Regions from separate parts of the Homo sapiens genome. Here all the other regions are linked to region 2. The links are contacts of gene promoters, found by promoter capture Hi-C in blood cells and fetal thymus (Javierre and others, 2016). All regions are on one chromosome and are shown on one strand. The core of a region is centred on a gene start or on the middle of the fragment in contact, and the rest is flanking DNA. Distances in the headings are between cores, read along the strand shown.

The links. Contacts are between HindIII fragments. The CHiCAGO score rates a contact against its expected background, and 5 or more counts as called.
Region 1: the fragment with the promoter of SLC6A7 here is called in contact with a fragment that was not itself captured in region 2 in 1 of 17 cell types (endothelial precursors); the score reaches 6.7 in endothelial precursors.
Region 3: a contact is called between the fragment with the promoter of CDX1 here and a fragment that was not itself captured in region 2, in 1 of 17 cell types (endothelial precursors). The highest score is 6.4, in endothelial precursors.

Annotation. Positions count from the first base shown.
Region 1 is chr5:150,187,434-150,192,212 of GRCh38, forward strand. It overlaps SLC6A7 (solute carrier family 6 member 7), which reads left to right and starts at 2,629. Exons shown (of 14, transcript NM_014228.5): 1 at 2,629-2,927. The coding sequence starts at 2,895. The HindIII fragment of the contact is 12,060 bases long and covers 1-4,461 here.
Region 2 is chr5:149,827,559-149,831,812 of GRCh38, forward strand. It overlaps PPARGC1B (PPARG coactivator 1 beta), which reads left to right. Exons shown (of 12, transcript NM_133263.4): 4 at 3,209-3,325. Among named protein-coding and RNA genes, the nearest start is that of MIR378A, 97 kb to the left of the region's middle. RefSeq lists an enhancer at 4,079-4,254. The HindIII fragment of the contact is 987 bases long and covers 1,022-2,008 here.
Region 3 is chr5:150,163,499-150,168,336 of GRCh38, forward strand. CDX1 (caudal type homeobox 1) reads left to right here and starts at 3,280. Exons shown (of 3, transcript NM_001804.3): 1 at 3,280-3,823. The coding sequence starts at 3,379. The HindIII fragment of the contact is 7,821 bases long and covers 1-4,838 here.

The DNA.
Region 1 (4,779 bases), core at 1,379-3,878, 360 kb after region 2:
ACCACAACAGGGAGAGAAGGGGGAAAGGGAGAGTGAATATTTACCATTTGGATTCCTAAGCAGTCATTTTGCCATGAATCAAACCCCCTCTGGAATGGGGGAGAGGAGATGGTGGTGACAGCAATTGTCAAATGTGCTTGGTTGCCAGACTCCTGGCCAGTTGTATGATCATAAAATTGGAGCTTCAGTGGGTAGATTGATTTATGTGGATAATGTCTTTTAGAAAATCTTGGAGTTTTGGCTGGGCACAGTGGCTCATGCCTGTAATCCCAGCACTTTGGGAGGCAGAGGCAGAAAGATCCCTTGATCTCAAGAGTTCAAGATCAGCCTGGGTAATATAGCAAGACCCTGTCTCTACAAAAAAATACAAAAATTAGCCAGTCATGGTGGCACACACCTGTAGTCCCAGTTGCTTGGGAGGCTGAGGTGGGAGGGTAGCTTGAGTTCAGGAAGCGAAGGTTGTGGTGAGCCGAGATGGAGCCACTGCACATCAACCTGGGTAATAGAGCAAGATCTCTCTCAAAAAAATAAAGAAAAGAAAATCTTTGAGTTTTGTTTGTTTTATGAAAGGGCAGACTTTCCCCACCAGGGCTGTGGGGATGGAGGTGATGGTGGCAGAGAGGTATGAGCTAGAGGGCAGAGCCTGGGTGAGGTCAGACTCCTAGGTTATAGACATGATCCTGTCTTTACTGAATCACTGAGTGATTTTGCAAATCCTGCCCCTCTGGGTCTCAGTTTCCCTATCTGAAAGGCATGGGCCTAGATCCATTTGCACCTCACAGTCCCAGTGACTGCCACAGTGGCTCAGTGGTCACCCCCTGATGTGTCTGCTCAAGGGAAGCTAAAGCCCTGGTCCACTCCCTTCTTCTCCCCCAGGGCTGGGTCCGTGAAGTGGGAGGAGCAGGTGCTGCTAGGAAGGGTCATAAAGAGGCCAGTCTTCTTGGCTCCTGAGCCAACTGCCTCATCCCTGCTCGCTGTCCCTGTGGCCCTCTGTGCCTTCCAAAGGGTCTCATGAAACCCAAGTGCCAATGGGAGGGAGTGGTTGAGCAAGGTTGAGCCTCTTTTGTACAAGATGCATTGACAAGCCTTGGGTGAGGGATGGGGAAGTTTCCTGCCTGGGCCTCCTTGGATTCAGGAGCCCTTGGCTTCTGCCTTTCCCAGCCATGACCCACAGCTTTCCTGGCTTCATCCCCAACGCCCAGTGCATGACTTCACTCCTCTGGGACAGTTTCCACAGGTGTAAAATGAGATGCACAAACATGTCTTCCCAGACAGTTGGAAAGAATTAAAAATTAGATGTTGGATGCAAAAATCCTTCATAATGCACACAGTAGGGCTCCATAAATGCTCCTTCTCTTCACACTCACAGCCACTCTTGGCCCCATATGGGTCAGCAGGCAGGGGGCAGAGGAGACACCTTCCTCCTGGGTCTGGAGAGCCCCTGGTTTGCCCTTTGTGGCCAGGCTCAAAGGGGAGAGAAGTTTGACAGGACCTGGGCAGGGGAAGGGGTGGACTGGAGCCTGGCCAGGCCTTTACCCAAGTCCATGCTTTGACTTAAACCCCTCCAACCTTTTTTCAAGCTCCAGAGGTGGGAGAGAGCAGAACCTTATTCTCATCTCTCCCCAAAGGCCTCCCACCGTGTCAACTGATAGTGAGCCAAACAGATGTATGGTTAATGTCTAAACTGGGACACTTGCGAGGGTGAAAAGGACACAATTTGTAATGTATATACTGATCCGCTAGTGTCTATCAGTCAGTCCCAGCAAACCAACGTGTGCCATTGCTCCAGCTCATCATTTCCCATCCTAGCCACAGGCTCACTGGACCCTCAGAACATTCTGAGGCAACAATGCATGGGCGGCTCGTGGCCCATTTTACAGATATGAAATTAGAACTTTCCAGAAGCCATACTGCTGCTGGACAGGAAACCAGTTACTAATCATCTAAGTCACAGATCACAGTGACACTGTGGCACTTGCCTGTCCCTTCTGCTCACCCAAACCTCCCCATTTTGCTTTCATCTTAAGGAAAGGAGGAGAGTTGAAGACTCTACTAGCCTAAAGGTCCATGAAGCCTGACTCTGTCCCTGGTGTCACTCATTAGCCCCGTGACTTTGAGTAAGTAACTTAACTTCCCTGTCCCTCAGCTTCCTCATCTGTAGAATAGGAGTAACGACACCTGTCTCTCCAGGTTGAGAAAATAGGACACCTAGTTCAGGACCTGGCACATTTTAGGTGCTCAATAAATACTGATAGATTGAATAATTGGACTAATGGTGGCGTGGGCAACCCACAGTCAGTGAATAAATGTTAACTGAGCACCTACTATGTGTCAGGCTCTTTGTGCTAGATGTTTTCTATGCTCCATCTTCCTGAATTGCTCACACTCCTGTAAGAGAGGAGAGATTCTTATCCCCTAAGGTCGCACAGCAAAGACGACGCAGGGGGGTGGGCTGTTAGTGTTCCTTGCCCAACTGTGGAAAGGGAGTCCCAGAGAGGGCAGGTCGCTTGCCCAAGGTCACGCAGAAAGCCGAGGGTTTCCGTCGCGAACCCCCCTCCCCACTCGCTCAGGGCTCTCCAATCCGCAGCTCTGCGTGCGGGGGCGCGCGCATCCCCCCGCCGTCCGTCCGTCAGCTGTCTGTCTGGGTGTCTATGCGGGCGCAGCAGTGCACCCTTCCCCAGCCTCGGGCGCTGCGCAGGGACAGACAAGGCATTCGCAGCGCCCTGCCCGCGCTCCACGCCCGCAGCCGCCAGACGGCAGCGCCTGCGTCCGTGCCCGCCCCAGCCGGTGCGCGGGAGCCGCGGGGGCAAAGGCGCAGTGGCCAGCGGACCATCTCTCGTGCCCTCGCTCTCTGCGCTCCGGGGCAGCTGAGCCCCGGCCACCCGCTCTCCAAGATGAAGAAGCTCCAGGGAGCTCACCTCCGCAAGGTAGGGCACGAGGGCGGGGGCGCTGGGGGTGCACCTGGAGGAGGGTTGGAGAGACCCGCCCCCAACGAGGCCCCTGGGGAAGGTCTGAGGATGCACCCAGACCAGCTTCGGGCTCTGGGGAAGGCCCGACTCAGCTGGATAACAGGGAGGGTCAGGGTCACGGTCTGCGCCCCCACCTCTGCCCCTGCCATCTGGGGTTCGGGATGTAGTATGAGGGGAGTCCTGGTTCACTGGGCCAGGCCTATGAACAGGTGTCTGCAGTCCCCGGAGGCGCGGGGTAGGGGCGGCCGGGGCCAGGCACCCACCTCTTCCCCAATTCCACCCTGCTGCTCCCCGCCAGGAGCTGATTGCCGGGTGTGGGGGGTATTGGAATACCTGAGCGTTGAGCTGGACTCATCTGAGGGGTGGGGAGTGGGAGGCGGTCATCCATACTGAAGCCGGCTCCCTGAGCCTGCGGGAAGACTCTCCTCTTTCCTGCCTGCTCCCTCCCCGCCCCCTTAGCTTGCCTGCTGAGACCCCAGGCTGCCCCTCAGCAGGGCTGAAGGGAGGCAAAGACAGGGAGGGGGCTATCGGAGGCAGGAGGATATGATCAATGAAGATGGAAGCTGGTATGGGAGAGTGGCTGTGGGCCCAGACCTCAGGCTCTCCCTACCTTGCCTTGTGGGATTGGACCTCTCAGCCAAGCTGTCAGGATATGGGGAGGGGGAATACTGGGGGACGTTTTCTGGCTTGTACCAGTCCTAACTAAGGAGTCAGATCTCCTGAATACTATTTCTGCCGCTGCCACTTGCCTGGTGACTTTGGACAAGTTCATTCTCTAACCTGAACCTCCTCTGGCTAAGCCCTAGCCTGGAGGCACCAAAACAGGCCCCACTGGGTGTGTGAGGTGTGGGGAAGAATGCTAAAGGGCTGGTAGATGTGAGAAGACTGTTCTCAGGGGCTGGTGTTATCAACCTCCCTACATACACACACATTCACACTCACACTCACTCACACACACACTCATTCATTCAAGTTCTCTGCTCTGGGGCAGCTGGGCTTGGAACCACTGTGGTGTGTCTTTTTTCTTTTTCTTGTTTTTTTTTTTTGAGACGGAGTCTCGCTCTGTCACCCAGGTTGGAGTGCAGTGGTGTGATCTCGGCTCACTGCAAGCTCTGCCTCCCGGGTTCACGCCATTCTCCTGCCTCAGCCTCCCGAGTAGCTGGGACTATAGGCGCCCGCCACCACGCCTGGCTAATGTTTTGTATTTTTAGTAGAGACGGGGTTTCACCGTGTTAGCCAGGATGGTCTTGATCTTCTGACCTCGTGATCCGCCCGCCTCGGCCTCCCAAAGTGCTGGGATTACAGGTGTGAGTCACTGCGCCCAGCTGGTATGTCTTTTTTATTCACTGACATGAGTGACTTCTTGAGACCATTTGTGAGTCTCTTGGGTCCTGTTTCCATTCTTTTCCACTCTCCTTCTCTTCCCTCTCTGCCCTCCCTCCCCACAAGAGGCCCTGTCCCTCTTGCTGGGTGCTGGGCTGGGGGGTTAGCAAGCTTTATCTCATTTAATCCTTTAACACTTCCAGGGGCTAGGTCTTAGTAGCCCCACTTTATAAATAAGGCAACTGAGGCACAGAGGGGTGAGACTCACTGCTTACCTGCTGGCAGGCTAGGCAACCTAGAGCCAACAGGGCAGAGGGTTGGTTCTAGGTTGCTACCTCCTCTCAGGGTCCTTTCCCTTTTCTCAAGCAGAATTGGGCGGGAATGAGAAAATGCCAGATTTCCGCAAAGGAGCAGCATTGCTCAGAGATGAACACTGGACTTAGAGTCAGGGGATCTAGGTCCAAGTCTTGCTGTGCCTTTAACTTGC
Region 2 (4,254 bases), core at 265-2,764:
ATACAGGCCTTTGTGACATGTAAATGGACAAATTCTTAAAAATGAAATTCCTGGGTCTGTGGATCTGTGATTTTCCAGTTTAAGCAGATACTTGCAGATTGCCCTCCAAAGATGTTGGACTGGTTTACACTTCCACCAGCAGAAGTTAAATGCGGTGTGAGCGTGTGCGGAATGTGGAAATGTGCACATGGAATAGCAGCTTTCTAGGGAGAACATCAGATTTTATCAGATTTTCAAAGGAGTCTGGAACTCAGAAGTTACTGGAAGCAGTCGCTCTCAATCCGGGCTGAGAGCACCCATAGCTGAGCTGTCCTGGAGTGTGAAGTCTAGCTTTGCTCAGCCTGTCTTGGGCCCCTCCCTTGGTGCTGTGGCTCCTGGAGGCTGGCAGGACTCAGCTAGAAAATCAGAGCCTGTTGGAGCCGGGAGGGTTCTTAGGTTATGGAGAGTTTGAGCTGGAAAGGCCCTTGGTGACCCTCAAGCCCAGCTCTGGAAAAACTGTGGCCCAGAGTGGGGAGGGTATCTCCAGTAGTCACACAGCAAGTCAGTGTGCCAGCAAAGACTAGAACTCAGGTATTCACTCCTAGTCTAGGACCCTTTCCCTTCCTTCCCACTGCCTTCAAGTTCCCCAAAGCAGCGTGAAGCACCCACCATGCCAGGCACAGAATATGTTCAGTCCCACATTATGGCTCCTGCCGAGAGGGGGTCCTGCTTCATTTCAGACTGGAATCGAAGCACCTAGGTTTGAATCCCAGCCCTGCCATTTAGTACTTGTATGTCCCTTAGGCATACATCCTGAACCTCTCTAAGCCTCGGCTTCCTGATCTATAAAGAGGGGTTAATAATAGTGCCTATGTCAAAGGCTATTAGGAGGATTACAGCAGATAATACACATAAAGCACTTAGAACAGTGCCTGGCACATAGAGTTGCTCAGTAAATGTGAACTAATACTTCTGGTACAACCATTAGTGGTAACAAGCATTCTAGTGCCATTTCTTCACGGGGCCTTTGGAGAAGAACCAAAGCTTAAAGAGGCAAAGCGCGACCCCTGCTGGTCAAAGGTTGTTTCCCTCCCATGCCTTAGATTACCTTCATTCCCTACATGCTTATTGAGTGCCTCTGTTTCAGCCATTGTGCAAGGCACACAGGAAACAGACTTGCTGTCTAGACTCCCTGCATACCGACAGAGATCTGGAAGGGCCCTGAGGGACCGGGCACAGTGGCTTATACCTGTAATCCCAACACTTTGGGAGGCTGAGTGGGAGGATCCCTTGAAGCCAGGAGTTTGAGACCAGCCTGGGCAACATAGGAAGATCCATCTCTATGATTTTTTTTTTTTTTTAAATTAGCCCGGTATGGTGGCACGTGCCTGTAGTCCCAGCTACTCTGGAGGCTGGGGTAGGAGGATTTTCTAAAGCCAGGAGTGTGAGGCCTCAGTGAGCTAGGATCATGATACTGCATTCAAGCCTGGGTGACAGAGCAAGACCCCATCTCTTTAAAAGACAAAAAGCAAACAAACAAAAAGGCCCTGAGAAGTCATCTGGACCTCAGGTTGGGCCATGGATCCCAGAGAGTCCAGCGATGGACTTGTAAGGACCTGTGGACCTCTGTGTGTCTGTGTGATTTTCTGAGGTCAGCAACTTCTGTCATATTCTTAGAGTCAAAAAAAGAGGTTTTAATCCAGCCATGTAGTCTCTCTGCCCCTGCTCATTACACCAATGGAGGAATCAAGGCTCTCACAGTGCACCGGGCCTGAGCCAGGCTAGAATGAGGTCTCTTTCCCCCAGTCCTAGGATCATTTCCCATCGAAAAAGTCACAAACATGTGGGTGCTGGTTTGGGGTTTAGGTGGGGTAGCCAGGATCCTGTGGCTCCTCAAGAGTGTGGAGTGGCCTTTTCTCTGGCTCCTGGCCTTTGGCATTCCTTGTTGGAGTGACTTGGGGTGGCATGTTCCCCAGGGAAACTCTCCGTGCTGTACTAAAATCTCATGATCTTTCTCAGTTTGTTATCAAGCTTGGCTAGGATCTCCGGCGGAAAATCTAGATGTATTCAACTTCCTGCTCTCTCAGCTCAGGTACACTCTGTACCTGCCCTCAGGGTGCAGAAGCAGAAGAGCTTTTACAGTTTTTATAGAAAAAAAAAAAAAAGCCAAACAAGCTTAAGTGTAGTCTTCCACTTGTGTAAAAACAACAGGGTAGGGCCAGGCACAGTGGCTTACGCCTATAATCTCAGCACTTTGGGAGGCCGAGGCGGGCAGATCGCTTAAGGTCAGGAGTTTGAGACCAGCCTGGCCAACATGGTAAAACCCCATCTCTACGAAAATACAAAAATTAGCTGGGTGTGGTGGCAGACGCCTGTAATCCCAGCTACTTGGGAGGCTGAGGCAGGAGAATCGCTTGAACCCGTGAGGTGGAGGTTGCAGTGAGCCGAGATCCTGCCACTGCACTCCAGCCTAGGTGACAGAGACTGCATCTCAAAAAAAAAAAAAAAAAAAAAAAAGAAAAAAAAAAAAAAACAGGGTGGGTTGGAGGTAATGACTACATACATATACTTGCATAATGAAAGCCCACCTCATGATAGGTTCACCGAAAAGTAGTTAGTGGAGTTGCCTCTAGGAGGCAGAAGGGGACTTTGAGCAAGAGAGAGACTTGCTTTTAATTGTCTGCCCTTTAGTATTTGTGATGTGTCTTCTTTTTTTTTTTTAATCATTTACAAGTATTACCTTGCTTAATTTAAGAAATTAATTTTTAGAGGTAATATGAATAAACAGAAAGAACAAAGGGGAAATCAGCTAGAATCCCATACCAGAGAATCATTTTGGTACCTAACCTTCCAGATTGTGTGTATGTGTGTGTGTGTGTGCACTCAGAATGTCCCAATAAAACTGTATCATAATATTTTAACAGTAGAATAGACAGACGTTACCCAAGACCTGCTTGAGTTTTTCTAAGTCATAGCTATTCCCTGGGGTTATTAACTCTGAAAAGGATTTGTATGTTATTAGCATACTTACGTGTGTTCGGGATTGTTAGACAATCTACCATCTGCACCTAGTATCTTGGGATCATCATCCCAGGTCATGGAATGCCCACCCTGTGTTCTCCCTGTGGTCCTGTGATGCCCAAGGTCAGTCCTGAGGGGCTGGCCATGCAGTCCATGTCCTCTGGCTGTGGCTCAGCCCCGGCTCCTGTCCTCTCTGCTTTTCCCTCAGCTGCAGAAGCTCCTCCTGGCCACATCCTACCCAACATCAAGCTCTGACACCCAGAAGGAAGGGACCGCCTGGCGCCAGGCAGGCCTCAGATCTAAAAGTCAACGGCCTTGTGTTAAGGTATTTCTTCACATGCCCCCAAATCTACCCCAGGTGTCTGTTGGGGCTGCAGCCTTCAGCTCTGGTGGAGGATAGCGAGTTCAGTCAACCTCCAATATCTCTTCCCACTCCTCCCACAGCCCTTGTAGCTGGTGTCCTGGGCACTGCTTCTGGAGATCCAGCCTAGTTTAGGGTTTTCTGGAAGGAGCCCTGGACTTTCTCACACTTTAGTGTTCCAGACACTGGTAGATGTTAATGCAGCTTAGAGCAAGGATGAGGAAAGTGTGGCCAGGCTTCAGAGGACTGTATTCCAACAGTGTGACAGACCAAAATGCAAGATTGCGCTGGTTGTGGAGGCCACAGTAAATAGTTTGGATTTTTTTTCCCCCCTCAGGGAGCCCATTGGAGGGTTTAAAGCTCTGCCATAGACATCCAGGGTCAAAGAACATCCCTTTTCCTCCTTGAGCCCCATCTTCCAAGCCTAACAAGAAGAGGCGTAACAGGTGTTTTTCAAAGGGTCCTGTCCTCAAAGGCTACACACAACCCCTCCTCTTCCTGGTCCTGGACGCTTCTCCTGGGAACTGTTGCATCCAATCCTACATCCTCAGAGGCAGAATCGGGACCTCTCAGACAGCAGCTCAGTGTAGGAGCCTCTCCCTTGCTGGGGCTTCTCTGGGGAATGAGTCCCTATGCTCCCTCCCTATTTGTCCTGGCTGACCCTCCTGAAACAAAGGTCCACCCTCTCGTGCCTCATTCTGTTGAAGGGGCAGCAGCCACACCCCATTGTGAGCCAGCTGTTTGCCCTCTGGGAGCCTAAGAAGCTCCCCAGAGAGGTGAGATGCATCTGACAGCCATTGCTAGAAAGTCCCAGCACAACGATGAGTCACACTTGGGGGGAAAGCCCCAGTGTGGACAAGCGGGGCGAATAAGACTGGAGAGGTTGGCTGGTG
Region 3 (4,838 bases), core at 2,030-4,529, 340 kb after region 2:
GGAGGGCACACTACTAAGGGGACCACAGAGCAGCTGGAGGGGCTCCCCAGGTCGTGCGGGTCCCTGGCTCTGCCCTCTGCCTGATCAGGACAACAGACTTTGCTCCGCTGGGAAGGGACTGCCGCTTTGGCCCCCATCTCTCAGCCACCACCTAGTTCTGGCCACCATCTCCACCACTCCTGGACCCCTTCCCGGCTTCCTGCTGCTCTCTGGCGCCCCGCCTCTCCTCTGGCTCATTCTCCACACACCAGCCACAGCTGTCTTCCCGCCACTGCCCTCCGCCACTCTACCCCTAGATAATACCCTTCCACACCCTCATCAGGCTTGTCCCACCAGGGCCTGCTCTGCCCCTTGCCGGACTCCTCTCTTGCCCCTACCACTCCAGACTGGCCTTTAAGTGCTAAGGGAACAAGTGTCCCCTCGGGCCTCAGGGCCTCTGTTCATACTGACCCTTGACCCCTGCCGCCCTTCCCCACTCCCCAGGGCCTTGACTCACGTGTCACTTCCTCCTGCAAGTCTTCCCTGACTCCTCCCTCTGGGTCAAATCTCCCTATTCCTGGCCCTTGCCAAGATGTAACTTTACCTTTATTTGTGATTATTTGATTCATACCTGTCCACCCCCGCCAGACCCCAACTGTAATTACTGCAAGGGCAGGGCCTCACTCAGTACCTAACATAGTGTCAGCACAAAGGAGGTGTGTTAATAATATATATTTTTCAAATAAATACATACATAAAGAAATGAATTTGTATGCCTATTTCCAACCTTTAAGCCTACCATTTAGGCCTGACAGAGCATACTCTTGAAACTAGAGGGCACTTAGAGAGCACCCTTCCCCCGGGATAGGCATCCTTTCCCCCAGCATCCCTAACGTGAGACTGACCTCCAGCACTCACTTACATACCTCCTGTGATCATGAGCTCACTCTCTCTCATGACAGCCCATTTCCTGACAGATGGCCCCTTACAGAGCACTTTCTTACGTATGGGTGGGCTGAAATCCACATCTGTAGCCTGCAGTTTCCTCCCTGAGGTCCCAAGTCTGCCCTGTCTTCCTCCCCAGACTCAGACCCCACTCCAGGTTTTCTCTTCCTTCAGTCCAAGCAGTCCCAGTTCTCTCAGCTCAGAAAGTGGAGTTCAGTCCTCTTGGGCCTCTTCTCCCTCCTCTGTGTACTTGCCAGTTTCCCACCAATCCCTTGAAAACTTGAGTCCTAAGCAGAGCCCAGAGCTCCAGAGAAACATTTCAGCACCGCATCCACTTCCTGACCTGGGAAAGTGGGATCTTCCCTGCTGAGGCAGCCATGTGCTCATCTGTGTCATGTGCTGATCCACACACATGTGGACAGCCATGTGCTCCTGCAAGGTAGCCAAGGGCTCCGCCCGGTCAGCAACAGCCAGGATTTCCCTTCCCCTCTCCTACAAGCAGCCTTCATGTTGCAGCAAACACTGGGCATTACTCCTTTCCTTTCTGAGCCTCAATGCTTCTACCTGTGCAATGGAAAGGGTTCCTCTGAGCAGGAAGCGGAGGGAGCCCTGTGCTGGCTGAGTCTCTGGCTCTATCACATATCAGAGCCCCAGAAGAGCAAGAGTCTCACCAGGGCCAGCTTCCCAGGCGGGTCACCATTGCAGTCACACAGAGCCCAGTGTGTGGAAGGGCCCCGGGCTCAGGTGAATGCTCTGCTGCCACCATCCTGAAATCCTTAATCATTTTTGAACAAGGGACCTTATATTTTTTATTTTGCTCCCGGCCCTGCAAATTATGTCCTGATCCCGAAACATCTGCCCAGCCCTGAGATGATACTGACCAGCCCCCGGCTAATATGGTGACCCAAGAGAGAGACGGGTTGAACAGATAAGACCCTGATTCTGACCTTCTTCTGGGGACCACACATCCCTGCACAATGAGAGGAACCCAGGAAATGTGGGCCCATCCAATCCCACAGGGTGCTTCTGCACAGCTCCCTGGCACAAAGCCCTTGTGCGGAGGGACCCCATCTGACTTCCTGACCCAGAGCCCTGTCCTTCATGCACCCTTCCCCAAATCCCTCAGCCTTGTCCCCACTCCCAGTTCACTGACACCCCCTCAAGTGTTCCCAGCCCCCACTCCCCCTTAGGTAGCTATGAAATGTTTGCCAGTCCTTCATATGGAGTGGAGGAACACGTGATGCATTTAAAATCCCAAGGGGGCTCCAGCCATAATAAATGGATCAGGGCTTTTGGATCCCGATTCACACAAACAGACTGCTAAAAAGACATTTTTGAATCAATTGGAGTACTTTGAATACGAACTGTGTGTTAGGTAATACCCAGGAATTTGTGTTAATTTTGCTAGATGTGATAATGGCATATTATGTAAGAAAATGTCCATGTGTTTTAGAGATGCGTGCTGAAGTATGTAGGGGTAAAATGACATGATGTCTGGAATTTGTTTTAAAATACTTCAGAAAAGCGGGGAGTAGGTGAAATAAGTGTGACAAAACCTTAATAGTTGTTGAAGCGGGGTGATGGGTACACAGCAGTTCATTATACAATTCTACTTTTGTGTATGCTTGAAACCTCTCAATTAAAAAAAGAGGGTAGAGAGTCATCAAGATAATTTACTAAAAGTTTCCTGTAATGTCCCCAGAAGACCCCCCTAACTCACACACACACACACCCACACACACACTGCCTTTTGAGAACTTTCTCTAGAAGGCCAACCCAGGCAGTCCCCCAACTGTAAGGAAGACTCGTGTATGTATGTGCATATGTGCATTTCCCCAGGGAAAAACATCCACAGCTTCCATGACGAGAGGGGTCGTGACCCCTCCCCGCCAAAAGATTAAGGACCTGCGATCCTACAGACCGGAGCCCTGTTTGAAGTCTGCGTTGCCCCTCACCTCAAGCTGGTCACTGTGTGAAGTTGGCCTAGAATCCCCCGGCCCCTGGGAGCTTGTTCCTCCGCCTGTAAAATGGGGCTGCAGGGCCGTCCACGCGGCCACCGGAAGGACAAGGTGTTCAGGCCGCTAGGCCGCTCCCTGGCAAGCGATTCCCACTCGCAGCGCGGCCTCGACCCTCGCCCAAGACGCGCCCTCCGCGCCCCCACCCCCTCCAGGCCCTGGCCAGTCCACCTCCCGCTTGGGGCGGCAATTTGTCTCCTTTTGAACCCCCCGCCCCCGACGGGTTTCCCCCTTTGATTCGCGGCCCGGAGGCTTCCCCCCGCTTTGAAATGCAAACCCGCCTCGGCTGGGGCCGCGGGCGGCCCGGAGCTATAAAAGGCCTGGGTGGGGCGGGCGCGGCGGCAGGACAGCCGAGTTCAGGTGAGCGGTTGCTCGTCGTCGGGGCGGCCGGCAGCGGCGGCTCCAGGGCCCAGCATGCGCGGGGGACCCCGCGGCCACCATGTATGTGGGCTATGTGCTGGACAAGGATTCGCCCGTGTACCCCGGCCCAGCCAGGCCAGCCAGCCTCGGCCTGGGCCCGCAAGCCTACGGCCCCCCGGCCCCGCCCCCGGCGCCCCCGCAGTACCCCGACTTCTCCAGCTACTCTCACGTGGAGCCGGCCCCCGCGCCCCCGACGGCCTGGGGGGCGCCCTTCCCTGCGCCCAAGGACGACTGGGCCGCCGCCTACGGCCCGGGCCCCGCGGCCCCTGCCGCCAGCCCAGCTTCGCTGGCATTCGGGCCCCCTCCAGACTTTAGCCCGGTGCCGGCGCCCCCTGGGCCCGGCCCGGGCCTCCTGGCGCAGCCCCTCGGGGGCCCGGGCACACCGTCCTCGCCCGGAGCGCAGAGGCCGACGCCCTACGAGTGGATGCGGCGCAGCGTGGCGGCCGGAGGCGGCGGTGGCAGCGGTAAGGACCCTTCCCTCGCCCTGCGCCTCTGGACCTGCAGGTGCTCGGGCGCGGCCCAGGCCGCCCCCTGTCTGACCTCTGCTCCGGCCCTGCTCGGGTTCCCGGGAGTGTGGCCCTCCTGTCCACTCTCGCCCTGGGGGGCTGCTCTTTGGCTCCCTCTCCTCAGTCTCAGGCTATCGGAGCCTTCAGCAGCACAGCCTAACCCTCTCTCTGTACAGATAGGGAAACCGAGACCCCCTGCGAAGTGCGGAAATGCGCCTGCGGCCGCGGAGCAAGACCCGAACTAGAACGCAGGCTCCCAGACTCGTGTCCCACACTCATTTAGCAACACCGACTCCGTGCTCTTCATCTGCTTCTTCCACTCCTAACCCAGCCCTAGGCAAAGGCGGCAGGTTCGCCCCAGAAGGGACGATTAACTAACTGTGTGAACAGGGCAGGTGACTTTCCTGGCCAGGGCTGGGTCTCCCCATCACACAGTCAAGACATTGCTGGGTCATATCCTTCAGGCTGAAAAAGAGCCCTCTTTGGCCAGACTGGGGCAAGGGGTCTGTACCTTACCTTCTCAGGGTCCTCCCTGAACTCTTGACCCCGGGGGAGGGGAAGCGGGAGCAGTGGGAAGGGGGGCTACTGTTTGGCTCCTGAGCCTGTGAACCTCCTGCCCCCAGGCAGGCCTCTCTGATCCGCCCTCTTCAAAGGCAGGGTAGGGGGCAGGACAAAGGGCCCAACTTTAATGAGGGGCGGCTTGACCTCCGTTATGGGTCCCCCCTTTGTCATGCAACTGGCTCTGCCTTGGCTCGGTAGTGACTCCTGTTGGCCGGAAAGTGAACACGACGTTCCATTGTCCGGACTGTGTCCGGCCTGTCCTGACAAAGGCCACCTAGCCTTGGGGGCGGGAAGCTGGCCTGCCCACCCTTTGATGTCCAGCCCCTCCTCCCCTTACCCCAGCTGCGAATAATCCTGGGACTTCTCCCACCTCCTCGCACTCTTCACCCCCATCTCCCCACACACACCCAGC